Linked DNA regions of Homo sapiens: all the other regions are linked to region 2. The links are contacts of gene promoters, found by promoter capture Hi-C in blood cells and fetal thymus (Javierre and others, 2016). All regions are on one chromosome and are shown on one strand. Each heading gives the region's core, a stretch centred on a gene start or on the middle of the fragment in contact. The rest is flanking DNA. Distances are from core to core; before and after follow the strand shown. Region 1 has its middle 28 kb from the start of RPN1. Region 2 holds the start of RAB43 (RAB43, member RAS oncogene family). Region 3 overlaps RPN1 (ribophorin I). Region 4 overlaps RAB7A (RAB7A, member RAS oncogene family).

Region 1 (4,469 bases), core at 1,659-4,158, 440 kb after region 2:
GTCAGGGGTTCGAGACCAGCCTGGCCAACATGGCGAAACCCCGTCTCTACTAAAAATACAAAAATTAGCCAGCGTGGTGGCGTCTGTAGTCCCAGCTACTTGGAAGCCTGAGGCAGGAGAATTGCTTGAACCCAGGAGGCAGAGGTTGCAGTGAGCCGAGATCGTGCCACTTCACTCCAGCCTGTGCAACAGAGGGACACTCGTCCCCCCCCAAAAAAAAGCCCGGGCTGGGTGGCTTACACCTGTAATCCCAGTACTTTGGGAGGCCGAGGCAGGCGGATCATCTGAGGTCGGGAGTTCGAGACCAGCTTCATCAACATGGAGAACTCACCCATCTCTACTAAAAATACAAAATTAGCTGGGCATGATGGCGCATGCCTGTAATCCCAGCTACTCAGGAGGCTGAGGCAGGAGAATTGCTTGAACCCAGGAGGTGGAGGTTGCGGTGAGCTGAGATTGCACCATTGCACTCCAGCCTGGGCAGCAAGAGTGAAACTTTGTCTCTCTCTCTCTTTCTGTCTCTGGCACATACACACACACACGCACACACACGGGCCTCCTGTGGTCTCACTTGGTCCTCTTTGTGACAGTGCCATTGTTACCATTTACAGAGGAGGAACTGAAGCTCATGGTTGAGCCTCTCACTTGCCCACTTTGCCAAACCCTGGTAGGGATGGGATTAGAGGCTCCTTTTCTTTCGTGAAATGAGACAACGATCTGGGGGATCGTTGGAAGGATTAAAATGAGTATTCAGATTACAATGCTGGATTCTTAATAGTGTCCTCTGTTAATAATAATAATAATGTAGTAGCAACAGTCACGTAGTCTTTACAGTCACAGGTGCATGTGTGTAGATGGGGTTCTCTCTGTATTAGCCAGGCTGGTCTCCAACTCCTGGCCTCAGGCTATCTTCGCACCTCTGCCTCCCTTAGTGCTGGTATTACAGATGTGAGCCACTACACCAGCCTGCAGTTTTTACTACAACTCTGTGAGGTGATTAGTACTAGCATTCCCATTTGACAAATAAGGACAGTGAAGAAAGCAGAAGTAACTTGGCCAAGGTCACAGAACAGCCATAGCAATTCCTGGGTGGTGTGGAGTGGAAGGCTCTGGCCTTAACTGCTACACATTGTCTCTGGTAACAAGGCCCTGCCTGAAGTATATTCCGGCTTCTAGAGGTTGCAAGGAAATGGACCACTCATCAGTTCTTGCAGCCTCCTTATGATCTACAGTGGGACTTCGCAAAGGCAGGCCTAGTAGGAAAACAAAGAGAAGAGGGTTGGAAGAAGGGAAGGATTGGGGCTCAGAAATTATGAGGGAATGGACTAGAAAGGATAGAAACAAAGCTCTTGGGCAGGTGCAGTGGCTCACACCTGTAATCCCAGCACTTTGGGAGGGCAAGATGGGAGAATCAATTGAGGTCAGAAGTTCTAGGCCAGCCTGGCCAACATGGTGAAACCCCATCTCTACTAAAAATACAAAAAAAGAAAAAAGAAAAAAGAAAAAATGGGTCGGGAGCAGTGGCTCACACCTGTAATCCCAGCACTTTGGGAGGCTGAGGCGGGCGGATTACCTGAGGTCAGGAGTTTTATACCAGCCTGGCCAACATGGAGAAACCCCATCTCTACTAAAAATACAAAATTAGCCGGCCATGGTGGTGCATGCCTGTAATCCCAGCTACTCAGGAGGCTGAGTCAGGAGAATCACTTGAACCCAGGAGGTGGAGGTTGCAGTGAGCTGAGATTGCGCCATTGCACTCCAGCCTGGACAACAAGAGTAAAACTCCATCTAAAAAAAAAAAAAAAAATTAGCTGTGCTTAGTGGCACATACCTGTAATCCCAGTTACTCAGGAGGCTGAGGCAGGAGAATCGCTTGAACTAGGGGGATGGAGGTTGCAGTGAGCTGAGATCGTGCTACTCCACTCCAGCCTGGGCGACAGAGCCAGACTCTGTCTCAAAAAACAAAACAAAACAAAACAAAAATTAACTGGGCATGGTGTTGCAGGCCTGTAATCCCAGCTAATTTGGAGGCTGAGGCAGGAAAATTGCTTGAACCCGGGAGGTGGAGGTTGCAGTGAGCCGAGATCCTGCCACTGTACTCCAACGTGGGTGGCAGAGCGAGACTCCGTCTCAAAAAAAAAAAAAAGAAACAAAGCTTTTGTCCCCATCTCCACCAGAAGTGAAGAAAAGAATGGCTTCCAGCTTGAGGAATGGGGAATGGGGATGATGGTACTACACTACTACTACTACTATTAAATACTACTGCTACTGCTACAACACTACACATTCATATCTATTCTTAGAAGGTATTAATCCCAGAAATTCAGGTTGAGGTTGGGAAAAGTAGGTTCCTTATCCTTGGGAATCTGTTTACTTACCTATAAAACCAGAGTGTAGTAAATAGGAATCCCTGTCCTGGCTGCCTAGCCAGGTTGTTAGGAGGAAAGAGAGATTTGGTGTCCTATACTAGCATTCAGAATGACTTGTGATGGGACACTGTTTGCAAGGCTGGGGAAAGCAGGCTGTGATACCTACAAGTGGGAGTGTACATTTTTACAACTCCATGAGGAGGCAAGCTGGCATATCTGTTAATGTAACATTAATCCTTTGTACCAATCCTTTGATTAAGCACTTCAGGGCCAAGGAAACTATCTTACATATGTATTCCCCCATGTGCACAGACAAACGTAGAAAGAGGTACAGTTGAGGGCTGTTTGAATGGCAAAAGCATGGAAGCAAACTAATTGTTCATAAATAGGGGACTGGCTTGATTTTTGAAAAATGACACATCAAGCCTGAGCAACATGGTGAAACGCTGTCTCTACAAAAAATACAAAAATGAGCTGGGCGTGGTGGCAGGCACCTGTAGTCCCAGCTACTCAGGAGGCTGAGGCAGGAGGATCACTTGAGCTGCAGAGGCAGAGGTTGCAGTGAGTGGAGATCGCACTACTGCACTCCAACCTGGGTGACAGAGTGACACCACATCTCAAAAAAAAAAAAAAGACACATTTGTTTAACAGGAATTCTATGCAGCCCCTCCTACAAAATAAAGTAGTACTGTTGTAGAATAAGCTCCAAGATTTATCACATATAATTATAATTATGACTGTGGCTGCAAATAACAATGTAGCCTTCTATAGTGCAAATAACAATGCAAATTACATTGCAAATAACAATGTAGCCTTCTATAGTGGCTTAAACAGACAAGGGTTAATCTGTCTCAAGCAATAAGTAGCAATAAGGGCAGGCACATCTGAGTCTTGTATGGGGCATTGGTGTGTTGTCAGGAATGCAGACTCTTTTTCTTTTTAAAATTTCAAAAGCCTTAAGAAGGTCACAGTGGCACATGCCTGTAGTCCCAGCTACTCAGAAGGCTGAGGCAGGAGGATCGCTTGAGCCCAGGAGTTCCAGGCTGTAATGAGCCATGATCATGCCTGTGAATAGCCACTGCACTCCAGCCTGGGCAACATAGCAAGACCTCATTTCTAAAACAACTTTTTTTAAAATTTAAAAACTTTTTGCCTCATTTCACCAGATCCCTGGCTTGGGGAGCCTTCCTTCCCCATGGTGGGACACCTGGCTTTGGATTTCACCTTCTTGCCCCTTCCAGGTGGTGGAGGTAATGGGTCAGCGGGGCGGGAGCTGGACTTGGCTAAGCTTCCAAGGCAGGAATTGGGCCGGGTGTTGGGCCAGGCTCTGAGATGTGGGGGTTTCTCCCGTGCCCCCCACTGCATGAGTTCCGTGGGCAGATGGTATACTCTGGGTCTCCGGTTGCAGTGGGGCTAGTGCCCCAAGGTGGCTTGAAGACCTCTCAGCCTGAGGGCGAGGCAGGAGCCTGGGTGGAGAGCAACTGTGAGGGGCCTCCCTGGAGCCTTGCACTGCCCCAGCTGGTGCCATGAAGCTAGAGAAGGAGAAGCTGGAGCAAAACCTCAACGAGTCCCAGGACATCAAAGCTCTGTAATTTGCCAAGCTCCTGAAGCAGAAGAGGATCACCCTGGGATATATCCAGGCCCGTGTGGGGCTCACCCTGGGGGCTCTTTTTTTAAATGTTTATTTATTTGTTTATTTATTTTTGAGACAGGGTCTCACTCTGTTGCCCAGGCTGGAGTGCAGTGGCGTGACCTTCGCTCACCACAACCTCTTGTTGTGCCCAGGGGTGTTAGAGAGAACGCCACACTTTGAGACGATTTAAGAGTCCTTTATTAAGCCGGCGGCCAAAGAGACGGCTAACGCTCAAAATTCTCTTGGCCCCGAGGAAGGGGGTTGATTAACTTTTATACCTAGGTTTAGGAAGGGGAGGGGAACTCAAATGCAATAATTCTACAGAAGTAAAAACATGCAAGAATAAAAAAAAAATGGTTACAAAGAGATAAACAATTTAAAAGACAAATGGTTACAAGAAGAGCAACGGTACCAGGTGCAAGGCTTTAAACCTTTATTATAATTAGATATAGGGGGTATGCCGGACA
Region 2 (4,570 bases), core at 250-2,749:
GCGAAGTCTCCTTCAGCTTGAAGACTTTCCCCTTTTCTCCTGGATTTTTGTCTGCTTTGTCCACAGGTGCATTACAAGGCCCCAGGACAATGCCCGCCTGTAGTAGCCATTCATTAAATATGTTGAATACCTGGAATTGGAGTGCCACAAGGAAGCTGTCTAGAGGGGTAAGGGGTGCTGTCAATTCCTTCCCATCTTCGGAGCTGGGAAGCCCAGTCCTGTTGGATCTAGTATAAGCTTCTTACAGATGTTTGGGTCTCCTTTCTCTGAGGCGCCCTGGTTCACTGGGCCAACTCAGGAGTTGGTCTGCCCTTCCTCAGAAATCCCTTCAAGTTTTTCTGTTCCTCTTCCTAGACTGGTGCTTTTTGGCTGGGTCAGTTTCCCAAATGGGCCTGTAGCTGCTCTGAGCTGGGTCATCCAGCCGTTTAGCAGCTGCTTCAACCACTGCTAGGCTGCCTTTTGGAGACAAGAGCTCCCAGCTCCTCCTTCTGGCCTAGCTTCCCATCAAATGGGGCCCTGGGTCCTCTCCTCACAAGGATTTTGGGCTCCTCCGCAGTTTTGTAGCCAGCCTGGATTCTGGCCTTCTGCAGCCTGCTCCCTCCCTTCCCTTCCGCCCCTGGGAAGAGCGACCCCCACCACTCTCGGAGACTGCACTGCCCGCCTGTCAGAGTGGGCACTCAGGTGACACTGCTGTGGTCGTCCCCTTCCTCCGTGATCCATTCCGGAGGGGGTCATTCTTAGTCTAGGCCTGCAGGCCCGGAGCTCCAGCCATGGTCTCCGCCTGTCCCTGACCGGCGGTCTGGGAGGCAGCAGGTAGGGGATCCCGGGCAGGCGGACCAGGCCTGGGTGGGGGGCGAGCAGGAGGCGCGGGACAGCACCTGGGGGTCCCAGCTGATGAAGGGTCGGGGTGGGCAGCGGTTTGGGGGCCAGACGGATCCGCGGTGTGGGCGCGCCGGGGTGTTGATGGAGGAGGGGCCGAGGTGCTGAGGGCGGGGTCGGGCTGGGGTCGGGGCTGAGGGCGGAGTCGGGTGGGGCGGAGTCAGAGCTGAGGTGAGCCTGAGGGCGGAGTCGGGGCGGGCTGAGGTGGGCCTGTGGGCGGAGTCGGGGCGGTGTGCTGAGGTGGGCCTGAGGGCGGAGTCGAGGTCGGGCTGAAGGCGGAGTCGGGGAGGGCTGAGGTGGGCCTGAAGGCAGAGTCGAGGTCGGAGCTGGGGACGGAGTCGAGTTCGGGCTGAGGGCGGAGTCGGGGCGGGCTGAGGTGGTCCTGTGGGCGGAGTCGAGGTCGGGCTGAGGGCAGAGTCGGGTCGGAGTCGGGGCGCGCTGAGGTGGGCCTGGGGGCGGAGTCGAGGTCGGAGCTGAGGGCGGAGTCGGGGGCGGGGACGTAGGCGGAACCCGGGTCGGGCTGAGGTGGGCCCGAGGGTTGGGCTGGGGGCGGAGTGGGTGCCAGCCTGAGGGCGGAGCCGGGGGCGGGCGGGGGCGGGCTGGGGCGGGCCTACAGGCCAGACTGGTGTGGCACGGAGCTGAGGACCGGCCGGAGCTTTGCGGAGGGCCCGGCTTGGCGGGTCCGGGGGGGAGCCGAACCCGCGGGGCACCGGGTCCGGGCGGGGCCGAGCCGGGCCGGGGCGGGAGCCAGCCGGGGTGGGGCGGGGCCGAGGCCGAGGCAGGCGGTCGGCAGTGCTGGGGGTTCAGGTGTTGCGGCGGCTCCACGTAGCCAGGCGGCCCGTGGGCTGGAGCGGGCGGAGCTCGGCCCGCGGCTTGCGTGAGCTCAGGCCGGTCCCAGCGTCCAGAGCGCCGGCCCTTCGGCTTCTTCTAGGCCATGGCAGGGCCGGGCCCAGGCCCGGGGGACCCGGACGAGCAGTACGATTTCCTGTTCAAGCTGGTGCTGGTGGGCGACGCAAGCGTGGGCAAGACGTGCGTGGTGCAGCGCTTCAAGACCGGCGCCTTCTCGGAGCGCCAGGGAAGCACCATCGGCGTCGACTTCACCATGAAGACGCTGGAGATCCAGGGCAAGCGGGTCAAGGTGGGAGGCCGGCCAGGGCCCCTGGAAGGCGCTCCCTCGGAGGGTGGGGCGGGGGCAGCGGAGCCCCTGGCCGCGGCGAGCGCACCCCGCGTCCATCTGAAGTTTCCTTTGGCTTCCCCTTTTTCCTTCCTCGGGTCGGAGCAGGCCTGGGCCCCGGGGTCTGGGCCGGGTTCAAGTCCTCAAAGCGCCGGCCGTGGGTTGCTGGGGGGGGGGGGGGCGAGGGAGTGTGGAGGAGGCGGCCCTGCCCTCCGGAGCTCACACCCTAGGAGGGGACTGTGCTCCAAAATAACTTTAGCCATTGGAAGGCAGGGGGTTAGACTCCCCTGTTCCAGGTACTAGCGGAGCGCCTTGGAGTGCGGAGATCAGACCCCCCACCTCCATCCACCGCGATGGCAGCCCCCAGCTCAGCCCACCGGCGGGGCACTCAGCCAGAGAACTGCATCCCCACCCCAGGACTAGGAGCGATCAGGAAGTAGTTGCTTTTAGGACCAGAGGGCCAAAACTTTTTGTCAGAATTTCCGGCCTGGCCACGCCTCCCTGCAGTCTCTTTGTGGACCTGGTGGTGGAACTTTACTCGACTAGGGCCAGCCCCGGTTCCCTCCCCCAGCTGGAGTTTGATAGAAACTGAAAACTTCACAGATACCGGAAGGTGGGGGAGAGAACCAAGCTTTGGCAATGGCTCCGAATAAAAACAGCAGGATGTGGTTGCCACAATGTCCTGGCAGTGGTTTGATAAATATTTGTGATGAATGAAATCAGAGTTTCTTAACCTAGGTGTTAGTACTCCCTAATCAACCAGGAGATCCTGGGCTGAAGGCACTCAGTAACTTTTCTGAACCGCACTGTACAGAAATCTTTGCTTGCTTTCATGGTTTCGAGCCCCCATGATCTTCAGGACACCCTCAGGGCACAGGGCTGGGACGATCTCTGCCAGGGAGATGGGAGTCACTGGAGCCTTGCTGCTGCTGGGCTCTGCCTCTCCGGGTGGCTCTAGGCCTGCTCCTTGTTGCCTTTGGCTAGGATATGTAGCTCTTTGTCTTTGTTTCTATAAAATTGGGATAATTTCTGGGTGTTGCCTCCCTCCTGCCCCAAGGTGGAGAAAAAAGTAAGTCAACAGTCTTTATGTGTCCACAGTGCCTCTCAGTAGATGTGACGGGGAAGCAGAAACTCCTGCCTGAGGGGTTTTATTATTATTATATTTTAATCGTCTTCTGGGGTCTGTGTTTTGGTCTCCGTGGATGGAAAAGAGCAAGGTGCAGAAGGCAGCTTTGAGTCACTCGGGACCACCCTTTTGGAGCAGGTAGCCAGGGAAGGGCTGGAGTGGGTGGAGTGTCCGTTATTGAGTGTGCCCAGTGATGATGCCAGCAGCTGCAGGGAAATGGGAGTGTGAAAATACAGGCTAAAGAGCAGTGGTGTCCTCCTCATGTGCTATCGGTCTGTGTCTGGAGTGTCTGTGGTGGCCCAGTGCTGACGGTGGTCAGGGAGGGGGCAGGGTTCCTGTTTACCTGTTGAGATAACAGACTGTGTCCCAGCAGAGCTCCTGGTTTACTGCGCACGGGTTATGCAATGCAGGGCCAGGCAGTTCGTTATTTTCTTTCCTTATGGTTGCCTCCAGATTGTCCTTCCTAGGAAGCAGCCCGGGGCCCAGGGAGCAGAAGAGCTGTGTAGCTGTGGTAAACACCTCTCCAAGTTATAGCCGCTGACCTTCTTGAGAGGCTGTTGGGAATCAGCTGGGTTACAGGTGCATTCTCTGCTGACTGGAGGGAATTCTTACCCCCGCTCACACAGGATGGAGCCTGGGCACACAGCTAAGAAGTGATAGAGGTGGGAATATTTTTCCCAGTTTTTCTGACTCCAAAGCAGATTTCTCCCCCATAGTGGACAGCTTTTCAGAATCCCGTTGTCTGTGGTGGGGAAGCCTCTGGCAATTGTTTACCACCTCATTTTGCCGGCAGGAAAACCTGAAGTCTAACTCACTGCAGAGGCTCCAAATTAAAGCTGGGCAGCCGTGAACTTGAGGGAACACTGTCCTTCGAGTCAGGCTTCCTGGGGTCCGCTGCCGCAGCAGGAGCAAGCCATTTTCCCTCCTCCATCTGTAAAGTGCCTCTGAGTAGTCTTTTGGCAATGTGATTTTAAGTCAAGTTTTTTGAGGTCTAATTTACACACGGTAAACCTTCACCACTTGAGGTGTTACAGGTCTATGAACTTCTCAAACTTACACAGACAAGCAGCCACATCACTATCAAGATGGAGAATTTTTCCACCAACCCAGAAAGTTCTTTTGTTCTTCTGTAGTCAGTTCCTTTCACCTCATCCTGTGGCAACCCCCGATCTGTTTTTTGTCTCTGTAGTTTCAGCAGTGTGATTTTAACTGAAAGCCTTGATGAACCAGAGCTTATTGTTGTTTTTTCTGTGGAAAGCAAGTGCACATCAGGGATTCAGTGTAAAACCTTTCCAGGGGCCGGGTGCAGTGGCTCATGCCTGCAATCCCAGCACTTTGGGAGGCCGAGGCAGGAAGATTGCTGGATGTCAAGAGTTCGAGATGAGCCTGGC
Region 3 (4,401 bases), core at 1,056-3,555, 480 kb after region 2:
GAAGCTGTGTAGGGTGGGTTGAGTTCAGTTTAAGGACTGCTCTGAACCATTATTAAAGGCGTGGGCTTTATCCTTAAAGCCCACAGTTGGGAACATTAAAAAATTTTTTTTCATAGCTTACCATTTTATTCATTTCTAGTTATATGTGCATACATTATATGAATTTGTCTTTATCACCTCTTCCTGCCACAGAAACTGACCTATATGGGGTTCTCAGTAAATCAGTTTGAGTACATGAGTAAAAAACCAAGTCATTCACACAATGTTCTCCCATTAGATCCAGCTAGAGAAGAGCTTTAGGAAAAAAAAAAAAGACCTGCTCCATGTACATCAGTTTAGACAGTTCTGTGTTGTCTAGCCTTTTATTGATTGAAAAACCTTCATTAGCTGGTGCTTCCACATTTTGGTAAGACTTGATGTTCCTAATGATCTTGGAGTGCTGAAAGGTTCTGATTTGTCTTCTGAATTATCAAAGCAAAATTAAATTATGTGGCAGCATTTAACAACTTGTAAAATGAATGTGGGAATGTTGATTTGAGATTGTGTAGATGGGCTGGGGGGAAGGGAGATTAGGAGATTAATAGGAAGAGATGCAGTAGTCTAGGCACATGGTATTGGTTTGAATGGAGGAGGAGGCAAAGGAAGGGATGGGTCTGAGAGGAATTTCTGAGGCAGGATTGCCCAGGTATTGGGGACAGGGCAGAGTGAGGCATCAGAAGATGCCTGGGTTTCTAGCTTAGAGTTGATCAGATGGCAGTGGTATTAAGAGAGATCAAGACTTGGGATCATGAATGATAAGGTTTTGTTGAATTGCATGTGGGGTGGTCAGTGGAGCTGTCTAGTAAACATTTGAAAATTTGATTTTAGAATTCAGGACAGAGAGTGGGATGAGAAGCACATTTGGGACTTGAAACTAAGAATTGGTTAAGACTGTCCTGAGGAGAAGATTCCGCTACTTATATTTTGAGTAGTGAACGTCACAGTTGTAATATGAAATATAATGGTGTGACTGATAAAGACATGCAAGTTTTGTGTTCTATAAAGTCATATCAGGAAGAGTGATCCATGTTCTCACCTTTGAGGACAAACTCATTGAAGCTTATTAATTCAATTTTTCACTAGTGGTTTCTACGTCTTCTAAAAATTGTTCTCCTGGCTTGGAAAACTGATTCAGTTTAGAATTAGTACCCTGTGAATTTTAAGTTTCCAGGCCATCTGTTTTTCTTTTTTTTCCTTTTTTGAGATGGATTCTCGCTCCGTCACCCAGGCTGGAGTGCAGTGGCACAATCTCGGCTCACTGCAACCTCCGCCTCCCAGGTTCAAGCAATTCTCCTGTCTCAGCCTCCCGAGTATCTGGGACTACAGGCGCCTGCCACCACGCCCGGCTAATTTTTGTACTTTTAGTAGAGACAGGGTTTCACCTTGTTGGTAAGGCTGGTCAGCCATCTGTTTTTCTTTAAAATATTAGTAGCTTTATTTTTTTCTTGATATGAGGATGATACAAGCTCCTTATAAGACAAATTAGGGCCTGGCGCAGTGGCTCATGCCTGTAATCCCAGCACTTTGGGAGCCCGAGGCGGGTGTATCACCTGAGGTCAGGAGTTCAGACCATCCTGGCCAACGTGGCGAAATCCCCTCTGTACTAAAAACACAAAAATTAGCTGGGCGTGGTGGCGGACGCCTGTAATCCCAGCTACTGGGGAGGCTCAGGTAGGAGAATCACTTGAACCCAGCAGGCGGAGGTTGCGGTGAGCCAAGATTGTGCCATTTCACTCCAGCCTGGGCTACAAGAGTAAGACTCCGTCTCAAAAAATAATAATAATAAAAAATAAAATGAAATTGGAAAAGACAAACTAAACTTATTCTACAACCTTGAGACAGTTACCATTAACATTTTGTTGAACATTCCTTGAAATACTATTCTTTACATTCATTCATTTTTTTTTTTTTTTTTTTCTTGAGACGGTATCTCGCTCTGTCGCCCGGCTGGAGTGCAGTGGCACGATCTCGGCGCACTGCAAGCTCCGCCTTCCGGGTTCACATCATTCTCCTGCCCCAGCCTCCTGAGTAGCTGGGACTACAGGTGCCCGCCACAACGCCCGGCTATTTTTTTTTGTATTTTTAGTAGAGATGGGCTTTCACTGTGTTAGCCAGGTTGGTCTTGATCTCCTGACCTCGTGATCCACCCATCTCGGTCTCCCAAAGTGCTGGGATTACAGGCGTAAGCCACCCTCCCCGGGTCTATGTATGTTTTTAAATGGAGTTATTCTTTGTCATTTGTAAACAGATTTTCGTTATTTACATTGTACATGGACATCTTTCCATGTTAATATAGATATGTAGGTTAGCCATATTTCTAATGACTGCCAATATTCTATTGTGTGAAGCCATATTTCTAACGACTGTCAGTATTCTGTTGTGTGGTTCTATTAAAATTTTTTTTTTTGAGATGGAGTCTCTCTCTGTCACCCAGGCTGGAGTGTAGTGGCGCTATCTTGGCTCACTGCAACCTCCGCCTCCCGGGTTCAAGTGATCCTCCCACTTCAACCTCTCAAGTAGCTGGGACTACAGGTGTGCACCACCACGCCCAGCTAATTTTTGTATTTTTAATAGAGACAGGGTTTTGCCATGTTGGCCAGGCTGGTCTGGAACTCCTGACCTCAGGAAATTCACCTGACTTGGCCTCCCAAAGTGCTGGGATTACAGGCATGAGCCACTGCACCCAGCCAAGAGATCACCTTTAATATAGTAATTTAAGTCTTTTATTAACAGGACATGGTGGCAGGTGCCAGTAGTCCCAGCTACTCGGGAGGCTGAGGCAATAGAATCTCTTGAACCTGGGAGGTGGAAGTTGCAGTGAGCTGAGATCATGCCACTGCACTCCAGCCTGGGCGACAGAGCAACACTCTGTCTCAAAAAAAGAAAAAAATAATTTAAGTCTTCTAAGACAGATATGTAGCTGTTTCTCTCAGGGCTGTTTATAAATAGCAAGAGTGTAAAACAGTGTAAATGTTCAACAATGGAACAAAAGTTAAAAACATTCTAATAGGTAATCCCAGCTATTCGGGAGGTTGAGGCAGGAGAATCGCTTGAACCCAAGAGGTGGAGGTTGTGGTGAGCCGAGATCGCACCATTGCACTCCAGCCTGAGTGATAGAGTGAGACTCCATCTCAAAAAGGAAAAGGTGATCTCTTAAAGATAATTGCTTTTGTCTTTGGTTCAAAATTTTGTTGTGACTTTGAACTGCTACTACTGTTTTCAGTATCCTCAGTCTCTCTTACTTCTCTTGCCTTGTTCTTCCTTTAGTGGGAGATTCTTCACAGTCAAGCTCCCAGTTGCTCTTGATCCTGGGGCCAAGATTTCAGTCATTGTGGAAACAGTCTACACCCATGTGCTTCATCCGTATCCAACCCAGATCACCCAGTCAGAGAAACAGTTTGTGGTGTTTGAGGGGAACCATTATTTCTACTCTCCCTATCCAACGAAGACACAAACCATGCGTGTGAAGCTTGCCTCTCGAAATGTGGAGAGCTACACCAAGCTGGGGAACCCCACGCGCTCTGAGGACCTACTGGATTATGGGCCTTTCAGAGATGTGCCTGCCTATAGTCAGGTAAGCTCAGGTGGAGTCCAGCCCATCCCTGTCTGCTTCAGAGAATGTCTTGCAGAGTGACTACTGGTTGATAGGCTTGGGTGGTGTGGGGTGGATGAAATCTGCAGTCATTTCTAAGGTCATCCCAAAAGTGTTTAACCTGCAGTGAAATGACTCCATGGGGGTCTTGTTTCTCCTTGGGGGATCACAGGTAGAGGCTAGGGGTAGCATTTGGAGAGGTGGAATGGGTGTTGGAGATGGAAGCAAGGCATTCCACGCAGAGGCAGTAAGAGGGACAAAGGCTTTGAGATGGTGTGGCTGGGCAGATACTGGGGTAGCAAAGCTGTTGGAGTGGTTGAGGGCCTTCCTTGAATGTTGGGCCTTGGTTGGAACTTGAAGAGAGAGGGAGCAATTAAGGCTTACAAAGATTTTGTTACTATGGCAAATCGCAAACATGCCAAAGTACAAAGACTAGTATAAACTCCCACACACGTCACTTAGATTCAGCGGTTATCAGGTTACCATAATTAACCTACCTCTTTTTTTCTTTGGTGGAGTACTTAAAAAAATTTTTTTTTTTAAGAGACAGGATCCTGCTCTGTTGCCCAGCCTGGAGTACAGTGGCATAATCATAGCTCACTGTAACCTCAAACTCCTGGGCTCAGTCCATCCTCCCAGCTCAGCCTCCCATGTAGCTGGAGTGACAGGTGTGCGTCACCATGCCCAGTTAATTTTTTATTTTTGTTGTAGAGACGGGATCTTGCTTTATTGCCCAGGCTAGTCTCAAACTCCTGGGCCCAGGTGATCTT
Region 4 (4,908 bases), core at 942-3,441, 320 kb after region 2:
TCCTCATCTACATGAAATCACTTTCTGCCTGGAGTTATCCTTTAGAACTTCTGCCACTAGCCCTTAAAGATGTACTCTTTCATTCAGGAGGGTTATTTCAGCAGAGACAGAACACTGTGCTGCCCGTCTCTTTCCCAACATACCCCACTGCCTGCTGGGCTCTGCTGCTACTGCCAAGAGTCACCTGACAGCCTCAGTGCTGTGCTTGTCAGGTTTTCCTCAGTCTATTTTTAAGCCTTTTTCTTTTTTAGTTTCATTATGACTTACACAGAATTCTTTTTATTTATCCTTCCTGGAATTTGGGCTTCTTGAGAAGCCCACAGTGCGCTGTGGATCTCCTGATGGGGTTTACTTCAAGAGTGCAGCGCCCCAAGGTCCCAGCTTAGTAGTACAGACGGGACTGTTATGACAACCCCCGACCCAGCAGGGGCCGAACTCTGATTTCTGAATTCGCTGGCCCACATGGCTACCAAAACCACAGCTCAGCTGGAGAAGTTCTATTTTCCCTCAGCAAAAGGCAGTCTGAGTCTTGCTGTGACACATGGAGAATCTTCAGATGGGCCTTTACCCCAGCTCCCTGAAGTAATTCTACTCCCTTCTGCCTTCTGTTGAGAATTTGTCAGTCTGTTGTTCCTTTATAAGTCATGTCTTTTTTTTCTATAGTTGCTCTTAAGATTTTGCTTTTCGGTCTTCTACAATTTTAAGTCTTCTTTTAGAAAATTTGCTCAGCTCTTACGGCTTACTGCTTTTTTCAGCTCCATTTAATCTACAGTTTAACTGTTCCTTTAGCTTATTTCAATACTATGTTTTCACTTCTTGAAGTTCTAAGTTTTCCATATCCTCATTTTTTTATAGTATCCCTTTCCATTATGGTTTCTATTTCTTTTTAGAACATCTCTAGTCATTGTGAACATCTCTTGTGGTACATTATTTCCTCATGTGGTTATGAACTCATCTTCTCTCCTGCGGTACTAAATGTCCCTACAGAGTGGTCTTACCCTTGTTTTTGCCAGGAATGACAGGGATTTATGTTAAATCCTTTGAGACAAAGATTTCTGTACATGTGGAGAGTGGGACTGAGAATCTCCAACAACTGCAGACACAAGCTTTGCCAATTTCTTGGGCCAAGGTTTTCCAGTTCTACTCTCAAGCTTGACTTGCTTAAACTGTAGTTACATTTTGAAGATCTCTAGGTGTATGTGTGTAGGTGAGGTGAGGATGAGAGATTCATACCAGCTCTGTCCTAGAAGTGTGAGTCAATTAAGAGTCCTGATCCTCTAGGAGCATGCCATGGCTCGAGGTCAACACGTGCACAAATTTCTACCTTTAACCTACATCATTCACACATTTCAGCAAGCCCCCACTATTTGCCAGGTACTTTCTAGGACTATAATGGGATTAGAATTGTATTTGCCTCTAGAAGCACATAGGAAAGAACAACTGCCATGGAGATAGAAGTTTCCAAAGATCTGAGCTAAAAGTTGGAGACTTCAGGTGGGTATACAGGCCCTGCTGGAAGCAGAGACATATCCACCAACACAAGTCTGTAAGAGCAGCACATGATTCGGAATGACTGGAACGAGACAAAAAAAAAAAAAGTGAGTAACAGCTATTTCCACCATCTTTTCTTGCCTCCGTAATGCATGAACGTCTTGGCTGATGCTCTCAAGGGCAAACACCAGGTTCTTATTAGGCTGTGCTCCCAAGTCATGGTCTGGTTCTAAGTGTGAAGATGAAACATGATCACATTGAAAATTTGAAATCACTGGTCATCACAGAGCTGGGAAAATTACTGTAAACCTCACAGGCAGGTTAAAACTGCCCCTGGAATGATTGGCCCCAGATGTGATGTGCAACTCAAAGATCTAGAAAAATGACAGGATAATCTACTCCTATCCCAATAGTTTGGTTTCAAAGTGAGGTTGTACTGACAACCTCAGCTGGCATCATGGACCATGAAGAAAGAGATGAAAATACAGGAGGGAAAATCCTGGGATTCTTTTTTTTTTTTTTTTTTTTTTTTAAATTTAGAGACAGGGTCTCACTCCATCACCCAGGCTGGAGTATAATGGAGCAGTCACAGCTCACTGCAGGCTCAAACTCCTGGGCTCAAGGTATCCATCCTTCAGGGGTTTCTTTTCTAGGGATGTTAATACATGTATACAAACAAAATGACTCAATGGGGGAAAAAAAGGGAATAATAGTTTATAGCCAGAATGTGAAGGCTTTTCAACAAGTCATATGAAAGAATCTGTATCTTATCCTAACTGTTGAAAGGGAACCCTTGAAAGATTAATAAGCTGATACATAAAAAAAAGATTGGCTCAATAGACACACAACTCTTGAAGTTACGTATGAAATAGGAAGTCAGAAAAATAAAGTTTATGTCTCACTACTGAGGTGAGACAAAGATGTTTACCTAAAGCACTGGGCAAGGATGTCAAGAGAGGCACAAGACAGAGACCTGCAGGTTGCCAAATTTAGCAAACAACAAAACCAAAAACAACAAAAAACAAGAAAGGATAAATCTGAGTTTTTTTTTAAGAAGAATTTTTTAGTGTGTCTTAGCAAGTCGTATCTGAGATACACTAGAAGTATACTAAAAAAGTATTCACTATTGATCTGAAATTCAAATTTAACTGAGTATCAGCCAATTATCTACAAATAAGATAATAAGATTTGAAGAACAGGGAAGGAAAATGTCTATGCATGAGGAAAGATTAAGACTAAATGAACTATCAAGGCCTGGTCAGCACAGCCAAGACATGTGCTTACCTGCATTGTGACTAGCCTGTCATCCACCATCACCTCCTTGGTCAGAAAGTCAGCTCCTATTGTGGCTTTGTACTGATTGCTGAATTTCTTATTCACATACTGGTTCATGAGTGATGTCTTCCCGACTCTGAAATTGGAGAAAAACCATAAGTATAAGTCAAATAGGAGGGTCCTGAAACTGACACGAATTACTTGAAGCATTTAAAAGAATCTGCCTGACCTGAAGGACAAGAAACTGCCCTCACAGCAAAGGGCAATGCCAGTAGCCTTCCGAGCATTACACTTTTGAAGTTTTGTGTTTTCTCTCTGGGTAAAAATATAGGGTACAGATGTGGGGCAGATGTGGAAAAGCTGCTTACATGTTTTGGCACAGCCAGGTCAAATGGTAGAGCCTAGTATTATTTTTTCCATTCTAGAAGGATGCCAGCAAATATACTGCTTTCTAAAAGAAGCTTCACTATTAAGACTGTTCTGCTATTCCAACAGTATCCCTGCTATCTTAGATGTTTCTCCATTTAGTGGCTGCTATTTAGCTTGATGAAGTAACACCAGGAGGAAGACCTTGGCTTTCAGCAGACACACACCACTCAGACAATTTGCTGCTTTAAAGTTTAAAATCTGAAGCAGAAAAAGCACCAATATATCACCAAAACAAATCCACCTCAAAGAATGCTCCTCCAAATATGTTTTCTAGTAAGAAAACTCAGCAAGAGACAATGTGTGATTTTTGTGTGATAAGGTTAAGGTAACCTAAAGCTAATACAAAAACCTTCCCCCCCATAGCCAGTGATATCACCTTTCTTGGCCACAAAGGAACATGTTCATATTTGTGTTAAAGAACCTGGAGGTACCTAGACAGCCGAAGGCAGTGTTTTCCAACCCAGACCATCTAAGCCAGAATCTACAAGGTGAGAGGTGGCAAAACCTGGAATCGAACAAGGGCTTGGTGAGACTTTTTGCACAAGTTTGGGGAAGGCAGGCCTAAAAGCACTATCTTTCCATCCCGACGGGGATGGAGTTGCGGGGTAGGAGAGAGAGCACAAATCTAGGCCCTAGCCCACTGGTCTGGGGCTGGGCAAATGCTAGCGAACAAAAGGTTCTTCAAAGGCTGGGCATGGTGGCTCAAGCCTGTAATCTCAGCACTTTGGGAGGTCGAGACGAGTGGACTGCTTGAGCCCAGGAGTTTGAGACCAGCCTGGGCAACATGGTAGAACCCTGTCTCTATAAAAAATACAAAAATTTAACCAGGAGTGGTAGCACACACTGGTGGTCCCAGCTACTCTGGAGGCTGAGGTGGGAGGATGGCTTAAGACCAGGAGGTTGAGGCTGCAGTGAGCTGTGATTGCACCATTCACTTTAGTCTGGGCAACAGAGCGAGACCCTGTCTCTCACACACATACAAAAAAAGGTTCTGCAGGTGATTCAAATAAGCCAGTCAAGACAGAAAAACCTCTGGCTTTTCAAAGGAAGGGCAGGGGACTTTGGAATAAAGAAGCATACCTGCATTTGCTATTGTTGTTATTTTTAAAAATACATAAGCTTCCAATGAGTCAAAGCTTTCATGGGTCCCTTCAGATGCCAAGTCTGAAAAGCCTACCACAGAATCTTTTTATTTTAAGAGTTGGGGTCTTGCTCTGTCACTCGGGCTGCAGTGCAACGGCATGATCATAGCTTGCTACAGCCTCAAACTCCTGGGCTCAAGCCATCCTCTCGCCTCGGCCTCCCCAGCAGCTGGAACTACAGGTACGGCACCTGGCTAAATTTTTTTTGTAGAGACAGGTCTCCAACTCCTGGGCTCAAGCAATCCTCCCCTCAGCCTCCAAAGCACTGGGATTATGGGCATAAGCCACCTCACCCAACCTACCACAGAATCTTAAGAGCCATTAGAGTTAGCTACATGGTTAGTGGCACATCTAGAATCAGAACCCAGTTCTGCCGTCCCAGGCTCTTTTGCAGATAGATCTGAAGCAGGCACAGCAGCAGGAGGATACTGTATGGTGCACTAAGAACGCACATCTGGGTCGGGCGCGGTGGCTCACGCCTGTAATCCCAGCACTTTGGGAGGCCGAGGCAGGCGGATCACGAGGTCAGGAGATCAAGACCATCCTGGCTAACACGGTGAAACCCCATCTC

The links. The method cuts DNA at HindIII sites, captures the fragments that hold promoters and counts their contacts. A CHiCAGO score of 5 or more calls a contact.
Region 1: a fragment that was not itself captured here is called in contact with the fragment with the promoter of RAB43 in region 2 in 1 of 17 cell types (total CD8 T cells); the score reaches 7.5 in total CD8 T cells.
Region 3: a contact is called between a fragment that was not itself captured here and the fragment with the promoter of RAB43 in region 2, in 1 of 17 cell types (activated CD4 T cells). The highest score is 5.5, in activated CD4 T cells.
Region 4: a contact is called between a fragment that was not itself captured here and the fragment with the promoter of RAB43 in region 2, in 1 of 17 cell types (naive CD4 T cells). The highest score is 5.7, in naive CD4 T cells.

What each region holds. Positions count from the first base shown.
Region 1 is chr3:128,676,101-128,680,569 of GRCh38, reverse strand. It overlaps the pseudogene POU5F1P6. Among named protein-coding and RNA genes, the nearest start is that of RPN1, 28 kb to the right of the region's middle. RefSeq lists an enhancer at 1-50. The HindIII fragment of the contact is 1,502 bases long and covers 2,158-3,659 here.
Region 2 is chr3:129,118,733-129,123,302 of GRCh38, reverse strand. RAB43 (RAB43, member RAS oncogene family) reads left to right here and starts at 1,499. Exons shown (of 3, transcript NM_198490.3): 1 at 1,499-2,017. The coding sequence starts at 1,814. The region is part of intron 11 of ISY1-RAB43 (ISY1-RAB43 readthrough); the gene reads left to right. RefSeq lists silencers at 1,270-1,489, 1,510-1,689 and an enhancer at 2,470-3,415. The HindIII fragment of the contact is 2,447 bases long and covers 240-2,686 here.
Region 3 is chr3:128,637,011-128,641,411 of GRCh38, reverse strand. It overlaps RPN1 (ribophorin I), which reads left to right. Exons shown (of 10, transcript NM_002950.4): 3 at 3,307-3,613. Among named protein-coding and RNA genes, the nearest start is that of RPN1, 12 kb to the left of the region's middle. The HindIII fragment of the contact is 2,410 bases long and covers 1,101-3,510 here.
Region 4 is chr3:128,795,937-128,800,844 of GRCh38, reverse strand. It overlaps RAB7A (RAB7A, member RAS oncogene family), which reads right to left. Exons shown (of 6, transcript NM_004637.6): 3 at 2,776-2,902. It also overlaps the pseudogene RPS15AP16. Among named protein-coding and RNA genes, the nearest start is that of MIR12124, 48 kb to the left of the region's middle. The HindIII fragment of the contact is 2,076 bases long and covers 1,154-3,229 here.